2 separate regions of the Homo sapiens genome follow, and region 2 is linked to region 1. The links are contacts of gene promoters, found by promoter capture Hi-C in blood cells and fetal thymus (Javierre and others, 2016). All regions are on one chromosome and are shown on one strand. The core of a region is centred on a gene start or on the middle of the fragment in contact, and the rest is flanking DNA. Distances in the headings are between cores, read along the strand shown.

Region 1 (3,805 bases), core at 1,143-3,642:
TAAATGTGTACACACGTTTCGCTTCTTGCTTCAGTCATCCCATGGGTGGTGTTATCACTTTCACGGCTGAGCTCCTAGTCAGAGGGCACTTTGAAGAAATAGCCAGGCCAAGTCGCTCTCAGCATAGGGGCATAATTTAACTCTTTTTAAATTTGCTTTAAGGGAAAGATGAAAAGAATGTCTTTTTAGACTAATTTCTTCGCCTCCCATTTACAAGAATAAATAAAACGACTTTTTTTTCAAATGTAAAAAAAAGTGGATAGCCTTTAACTGCAGTAGCATAGATGTATAAAGTTGAAGTGATACCACATAAGGTTTACAGGCAGTGAGGGCCCGGAAACAGATTTGTCATTCATTTTCTTGTTCATGATACACAATTATTCTTAAAAGTGTTGTGTGACAAACTCCTAGAAAGTATTGTCTAAATGTGCCCTCTCCCTATTACTATGTCACTAAGTTTGTAGAACTGCCTGATTCACTTACCAAAACTTTATCCTGCTGTAACTTTTTTGAACAATCCCTGTAATATTCTCCACTGCTTATTTTAAAGTAGCTGAGAATATAGCGTGCTGTTTATGGGCAACTAGTCATGGGGTAGAGGGTGAGATGATACCAGTGTTAGCCTGGGCAGGCCTGGGTGTGAATTCCATCCAGACACTTACTTAATATGTAAACTTGATTAAGTCTATTTGTTTATTTTTACACATTTCTACACTATATTTCTTCACTTATAAAATGGGTAAAAAATATCTGCCTCTTTGGATTTTTACGATTGACAAAAAAATGCAAGTAAAGTGCCTTGTATTGAGCTTCCCATGTAGAGACAGATACTCAAAAAATTTAAAAATCTCTTATTTGCTGCCTTTTCACAGGGGTATGTTAGGCACATACCTTTAATAAACGTTTCCAGTGAAAGGAGAAGGGGAGGCTGAGTTTTGGATGCCCAATGATTCTTCTCAAGATAATATCTTTAGTTTCAATTCTGTAGCGCTTTTGAAAAACTGATGCTTTGTGAAATATCAAATGAAGTAGTGCTCTGTAACATCTCCCAGAATTCTTCTCTCTTTTTAGCCTGGACTTGTCCCTCCATTACTTTGAAGACCCAAAGAGGACTGTTCCTTATTTTCTTCTATGCAGGTGGAGGATTTTTTTTTCTTGTACCCTCTGCTGACATCTCACTGATTTTCTATGTTAGAACTTTGAAAGAAAAAAAAAAAAAAAACGGCTTTGAAGGTCGAACTGCCTGGTGTTTGTTTAATAGTAGAAGCCACGTGTTTTGACACATCAAAGATTAAGAAAAGAGAAGGATTTTATTTCATAAATATCAAAGGGAAAACTTTCAGTTAATTGAATGGCAACTAGTCCCCTTTGTGCTCATTTCGGTTTCTGGCGATAAAGATGCTCAAACAGTGAGATCGCAACCAGTGAAGGAGGCGCTCTGAAGGACAGGAAAGGTTGGCTCTGCATGAGAAAGCCCTTTTAGATCCAGAAGAAGAATCACGCTTCCTTTCTTTTCCTGACCACAGCCTGTCCTGTAATTAGCGGAGCAAGTCAATCTGAGCGAGGCAAATCACTGGTTTTCCATGAAATAATTATATTTCTTATGCTCTTGGACATGTACACCTCTAAGCCTAAAAGCGGAGAAAGATGTTTTGGTTTTTTTTACGTGAGCTGGGGGAGGGAGAAGAAAAGTGGCAGCGACAGTGTAGCAAATGGGTGAAAGCAGCACAATGTGGCAAGAGGAGAGAACAGGATTCCGATTCCGTGGGGGCGTGGGAACACTGAGTTCCGCGCAGGGAGTTTCCCTGTTCAGAGCACCTTGTGCGCGAGTTGATAACTCTCGGAAAGGAAACAAAATTTGGCTTTCCTAAACTTTCTGTACGTCCAGAGAATCCCATGCCTTGTCTTGGCCTCCGCAGCGCCAGGCTGGGGTGACAGCACTCCTCCTCCACCGGCCCGGGCTTCTCCTCCGGACCGCGAGCCTGTGGCGCCTCCCCGCGCGCCCAGCGCACCGGGGTGTCCCCTTGGAGGAGCCTGCGGGGGCGGGGGAGGAGGGAAGGGCGCGACTCGTGGGTCGCGCTGGTTCCTTCACTGGATGGACGTCCGACGCTGCCTCCGGGGCGGAGACAGCTCCGGCCACCATGCGCCCGTTGCGGCGATTCCACCCACAGTTCGCTGGCTCTGGGGGTGGCGGGTCTTGGCGCGCGGTGCCTGCGCGAAGGGAGGGCAGCCATCGCCCCCGCGGTCACTGGGGCCCCGCGTTCCCCGCGGGCTCGGGCAGGTGCGCGGTGTGCCGGCCAGGTCCCCTTGTCCTCCTGCCCTGCGGCTTGGGCGCCGCGCCCGCCCCGCCCCCGCCCGCGGGCCGCCCTGGGCAGGGCCTGCCGCTGCGGCTGGAGAGCAGCGCACCGGCATGGGCAGGCGGCCGGCGGCGGAGGGCGGCTGAGGGCTGCTGAGGGTACGCGCAGCGGCCTCTCGTCGCCCTGCACGTGCCTCGCCAGGCAGTGCGCCTGCTCGCAGCGAGGACCTAGCCCTCTGGTTGCAGAGACCCGGTGCCGCAGCAGCGGCGGGTGGCTGTCGCTGCCCTGCCCTGCACGGGGCAGGGCGGAGCGGGCTGAGCAGCCCGGGCGCGATGCGTTGAGCGCTCGGAGGGCCAACCGCCGGTCCCCTTGGCGGCAACCGGCGGCACCCATGGAACCACTGGGCAACTGGAGGAGCCTGCGGGCGCCACTGCCTCCGATGCTGTTGCTGCTGCTCCTGCAGGTGGCGGGGCCCGTGGGCGCCCTGGCGGAGACCTTGCTGAACGCGCCGAGGGCCATGGGCACCAGTTCCAGCCCGCCTAGCCCTGCGAGCGTGGTGGCTCCCGGAACGACGCTGTTCGAGGAGAGCCGGCTGCCTGTGTTTACGCTGGATTACCCCCACGTGCAGATCCCCTTCGAGATCACCCTTTGGATCCTGCTGGCCTCCCTGGCCAAGATTGGTGAGCGAACTGGACTTGTGGGGAATGGGAGGGGGCGATCTCGGGGGGACACCTGGAGGGTGACCGGGTCAGCCAGCTGACCTCTAGATAGTGACCGCCTCATCTTGAATCAGGGCAGGGACGACAGATGGAGCAGCTTCTTCTGGTTGAAAAGGACCCTTGGAAGAGCAGTTTCGCGTTTTGGTTCTTAAGGGAACATTGGCCTTGAAATGGCCCCAAGTGTAAGTTCTACAAACTCAGCGATTGCTGCTTACTTCTGCCGCACGGAACGCCAAGTTTGTCAGCTCTCTGCTTAAGTTGAGTGAGATCTGTTTATTGAAGTGTACCAGTCTCACCTGCAGGGAGAGAGGTGCCGACGAACCCCGGAGCTATGCATAATGTGGTTAAAACCCTGGATGCTACAGGAGAGAGGCGCCTTGGCAGTGACACAGACCCTGCTGTGCGCCTGACTAATGAGGTGCATGGAAGGGGACCAGGGACACCTGAGTGCTTGCAGCTGCAATAGGAACGCCCTTTCTCCTCCCTCTATTGGGTTGAGGCTGTCACTCTCCAGGAAGCTTTTGCTTCGGGGTGGCTGAGGCCAGTGAGGTGAGATGCATATTTAAAAATAATTAACTCTGGGCCCAGGACAATGGCCCAGCCTGTAATCCCAGCACACTGGGAGGCCCAGACGTGAGGATCCCTTGAGGCCAGGAGTTCAAGATCATCATGGGCAACATAGCAAGACCAAACAGTACAAAAATAAAAAATTGGCCGGGCGAGGTGATTCACGCCTGTAATCCCAGCACTTTGGGAGGCTGAGGCAAGGTGGATCACGAGGATCACTGA
Region 2 (3,741 bases), core at 901-3,400, 380 kb before region 1:
TCCCTCAGGGGTCCATTTGTGAGAGGAGATGATGTCCCTTGGCAGCCCCTGGCACCAAGTCAGCCAACTGGGCACTCAGAAGTCATGGAACCCAGGCCAAAGGACACCATGGTAGCCGCTCAGGCTTCCGGTTTATTAACATGAGAGAATTTGGTAGCAACAATTCCACAAGCTTGTCCAATTCCTTTTCAGATGGGAAGCTGTATGACGCCTATGTCTTATACCCCAAGCCCCACAAGGAAAGCCAGAGGCATGCCGTGGATGCCCTGGTGTTGAATATCCTGCCCGAGGTGTTGGAGAGACAATGTGGATATAAGTTGTTTATATTCGGCAGAGATGAATTCCCTGGACAAGGTGGGTTTTAAGTGAGGTGTAAAAATAACAAATAAAAGAAGGAAAGCGACCCCTCTGTTCCTCCACTTTACTAATGGCGGTGACTCTGCCTGCCTTCCCCATGGAACCACAGAGAGTCTATGACCAGCGCCCCCTGCCCGTCAGCCCCCAGCCCCCAGCCAAGGAGGTTAGGCCCAAGCTCTTTGCCTGCTCTAGGCTCCTCCCTGCCCCGCAGTGCCTGAGATTCCTGCTTGCAGCAGCACGCGTCTCACTTTGAGTGAGGATATGGTTAAGCCATTCACAGAAACAGGTGGCCAGTGATGTAGTGGTGGCTAAAGGACTGAAAGGTGGCGAGTGGTCATTTGAGCCTCACATCCCTGAGATGAACTGCTGGGTGTTTTCCATGGGTTTGAACAATGTAAATCAGGTCGTGCTTAAAGCTGATTTTATAAACCTCGACCCTACTTGCCCCCTCCCCTCCCTAAATATAATGGAAGTTTTAGTGTACTTTTCCCACTTGATAGGAAGGTGGCTTTGGACAGTTCAGTTAACTTCTCTCAACCTCAGTTGTCTCATCTGTAAAATGGGGATGGGGTGCTTCCCTGACTCAGATGAGAGAACTGAATGAGAAAACCTGAGAAGGGGTCCCCGGCATGGAGCTCAGCACACTTTAGACACTCACACAACAGTGCTTTCCTGTCCCTTTGTTCTCCTTCTTGGAAGGCTATACAGCAAAATGGCTGAAATCTGAAATAAACATTCTTTTCTAGTCACCAGTAAATGCCAATTCACTCACTTATTCAACAAATATTTACTGAAAACCTCTATGTGATGGACAGTATTCTAGGCACTAGAAATATGAAAATCAGCCAAGCGGAAGGGCCTGTCCTCAGGGAGGTTCCAGTCTATTCTTATTTCCCATGAGAGGCAACTGTAGACTGAATAGCATCTGCAGAGCTGGGTATTTAGAGAAACCTCCCTTTCCCAAGCAATCATCAGGGCATGTTATTTGGTTTCTAAATTACTCACATAAATCCTGGTCATTTAAATAACTATAAAGAACAAAAGGAAAACACAGATTCAAGATTAATGCAACATTTCAGCTAACTACATTTTCCTATCCTTTTAAAATCTATTTTTAAAAACGTGTTCATCTGCTAATATACACCAGACCTTCAGCTAGTCTGGGGATACAGAGTTAGGAACCATCAGATACTTGTTGGCCAGGGAAAGTGACATACAAAGAAACCACATGCAAAACATGATTCATGACTATAGAGGACCAAGGCTCCAGGGAAAGCCACAAAGGCTTCACAGAAGAGGTGACAAATATTAAAAAAAAGAAAAAACCCAAAACTTGAATTAATCCATTCCTGACTAAGTCATGTTTATTTTAAAGTCCATTTTTGGCCAGGCAAGGTGGCTCACACCTGTAACCCCAGCACCTTGAGAGGCCGAGGTGGGCAGATCACTTGAGGTCAGGAGTTCAACACCAGCTTGTGGTAAAACCCCGTTTCTACTAAAAATGCAAAAATTAGCTGGACGTGGTGGTACGTGTCTGTAATCCCAGGTACTTAGGAGGCTGAGGCAGGAGAATCGCTTGAACCTGGGAGGTGGAGGTTGCAGTGAGCTGAGATTGCATCCCTGCACTCCAACCTGGGCAACACAGTGAGACTTCACTTCAAAAAAAAAAAGTCAATTTTCTCCTGGCCTGTTTCAAACATTCTCACTAGCATTAAGACCCGGGCTGTTTTAATTGTGAGTTCTTCTGAGCCTTCTTTCTTTATTTCCAGCCGTGGCCAATGTCATCGATGAAAACGTTAAGCTGTGCAGGAGGCTGATTGTCATTGTGGTCCCCGAATCGCTGGGCTTTGGCCTGTTGAAGAACCTGTCAGAAGAACAAATCGCGGTCTACAGTGCCCTGATCCAGGACGGGATGAAGGTTATTCTCATTGAGCTGGAGAAAATCGAGGACTACACAGTCATGCCAGAGTCAATTCAGTACATCAAACAGAAGCATGGTGCCATCCGGTGGCATGGGGACTTCACGGAGCAGTCACAGTGTATGAAGACCAAGTTTTGGAAGACAGTGAGATACCACATGCCGCCCAGAAGGTGTCGGCCGTTTCCTCCGGTCCAGCTGCTGCAGCACACACCTTGCTACCGCACCGCAGGTGAGCGGGTGGGAGGACACGAGGTTTGTCACGCACTGATGGAGGGTCTATCATTGCGTGGTGGCTCACAGCTGGAGGAGGACACGTTTCATCGGGGCCGTCTGCTCTGAAGCTGGCAGTTGCGTACTAGTGAGAGGATCTGTTGTGTTTGTTGTCATTTGTTTGCTTCGATCAGAGCTGCTTCTTCAGGGAAACACACGGCTTCTGCAGAAGGCCCTCTTTAGCCTATGGGCTTATTGACACATGCCCACTCACTGAGGCCTGGATGGATACAGCACTTGGGCCCCTTGAGAACAGGACATGGAGGGTTTTAGAAATGGCAGTGGACATGCCCGGAAGTTTGCCCATGATGTGGCACCCATAGAGTCTGAGATGGGAGCCTGTGCTGTCGGGGGACCACAGGAGGGCAGTCTAGCACCAGGAGAGGGTTGGCAAGGATAGCAGTATTTGTCCACGCCTGTCCAGTGTCTTCAGGGCCCCATGCTCAGGGGTCATTTGCTGTGTCTGCGTCTCTCTCACTCTGTCAGTGCAGACAAAGAGCTGCAAACACAGCCTTAGCACTTTGCTTCCAGAAGCAAGTTAAAAGTCACCTAGACCAGTGGGGACCCACGGGAGTGGCCATGACTGCCTCTTGGTCACCCTTCCATGTTTGAGAGGCTTTATCTGTCAAACTAAAGCAAGCAGGAATTCCTTTTCTCTCTCTTTTAGACACATGTCAACCAGAATTCTGAGCAGCCTGTGAGAGACGCAATTAGCACACAGATGATAGAATTATAGTCCAAGCAAGGCAAAGTCAGTTTCCAATGAGCCAATGTGCCCTTGTCACAGGCCAATTTATAACTTAATGATTAAAGGTTTTTAATACTAAAAATTAGCTGTAAACCCTCATCACTTTTTTCCAAGACCCTGGCCTGAGGGAATTAGGCATAGCTCAACCTTCTGAAGCTGTGGGTTGTTGACACTGAGACTTAGTAAGCAGTCAGTGGGGGCTGGAAGGGAGTCAGCCCTGAGAGCCAGCCGGCAGGGGCGAGAGAGGGAGCCAGAGGGTGTCAGGAGGCCTGTGGTCTTAGGATGGCATGGGGAGCAGGGTGGGTTAGGAGGTGCTGTGCCCTCGTTCACAGGCGATGGGTGGTACCCAGTGTGGGATGGACTTTCAGGTGCTAAGGAACCCACTCCTGTCTTTGAAGAGTTTATGTTCCAAGGTGACCTCACATTACACATTTGTTTAGCATCC

What was found. The method cuts DNA at HindIII sites, captures the fragments that hold promoters and counts their contacts. A CHiCAGO score of 5 or more calls a contact.
Region 2: a fragment that was not itself captured here is called in contact with the fragment with the promoter of SLC9A2 in region 1 in 2 of 17 cell types (megakaryocytes and erythroblasts); the score reaches 6.3 in megakaryocytes.

Annotation. Positions count from the first base shown.
Region 1 is chr2:102,617,161-102,620,965 of GRCh38, forward strand. SLC9A2 (solute carrier family 9 member A2) reads left to right here and starts at 2,393. Exons shown (of 12, transcript NM_003048.6): 1 at 2,393-2,977. The coding sequence starts at 2,689. RefSeq lists a silencer at 2,001-2,110. The HindIII fragment of the contact is 5,203 bases long and covers 1-3,532 here.
Region 2 is chr2:102,232,771-102,236,511 of GRCh38, forward strand. It overlaps IL1RL2 (interleukin 1 receptor like 2), which reads left to right. Exons shown (of 12, transcript NM_003854.4): 10 at 193-354; 11 at 2,127-2,507. Among named protein-coding and RNA genes, the nearest start is that of IL1RL2, 48 kb to the left of the region's middle. RefSeq lists enhancers at 2,072-2,572, 2,573-3,073. The HindIII fragment of the contact is 3,960 bases long and covers 171-3,741 here.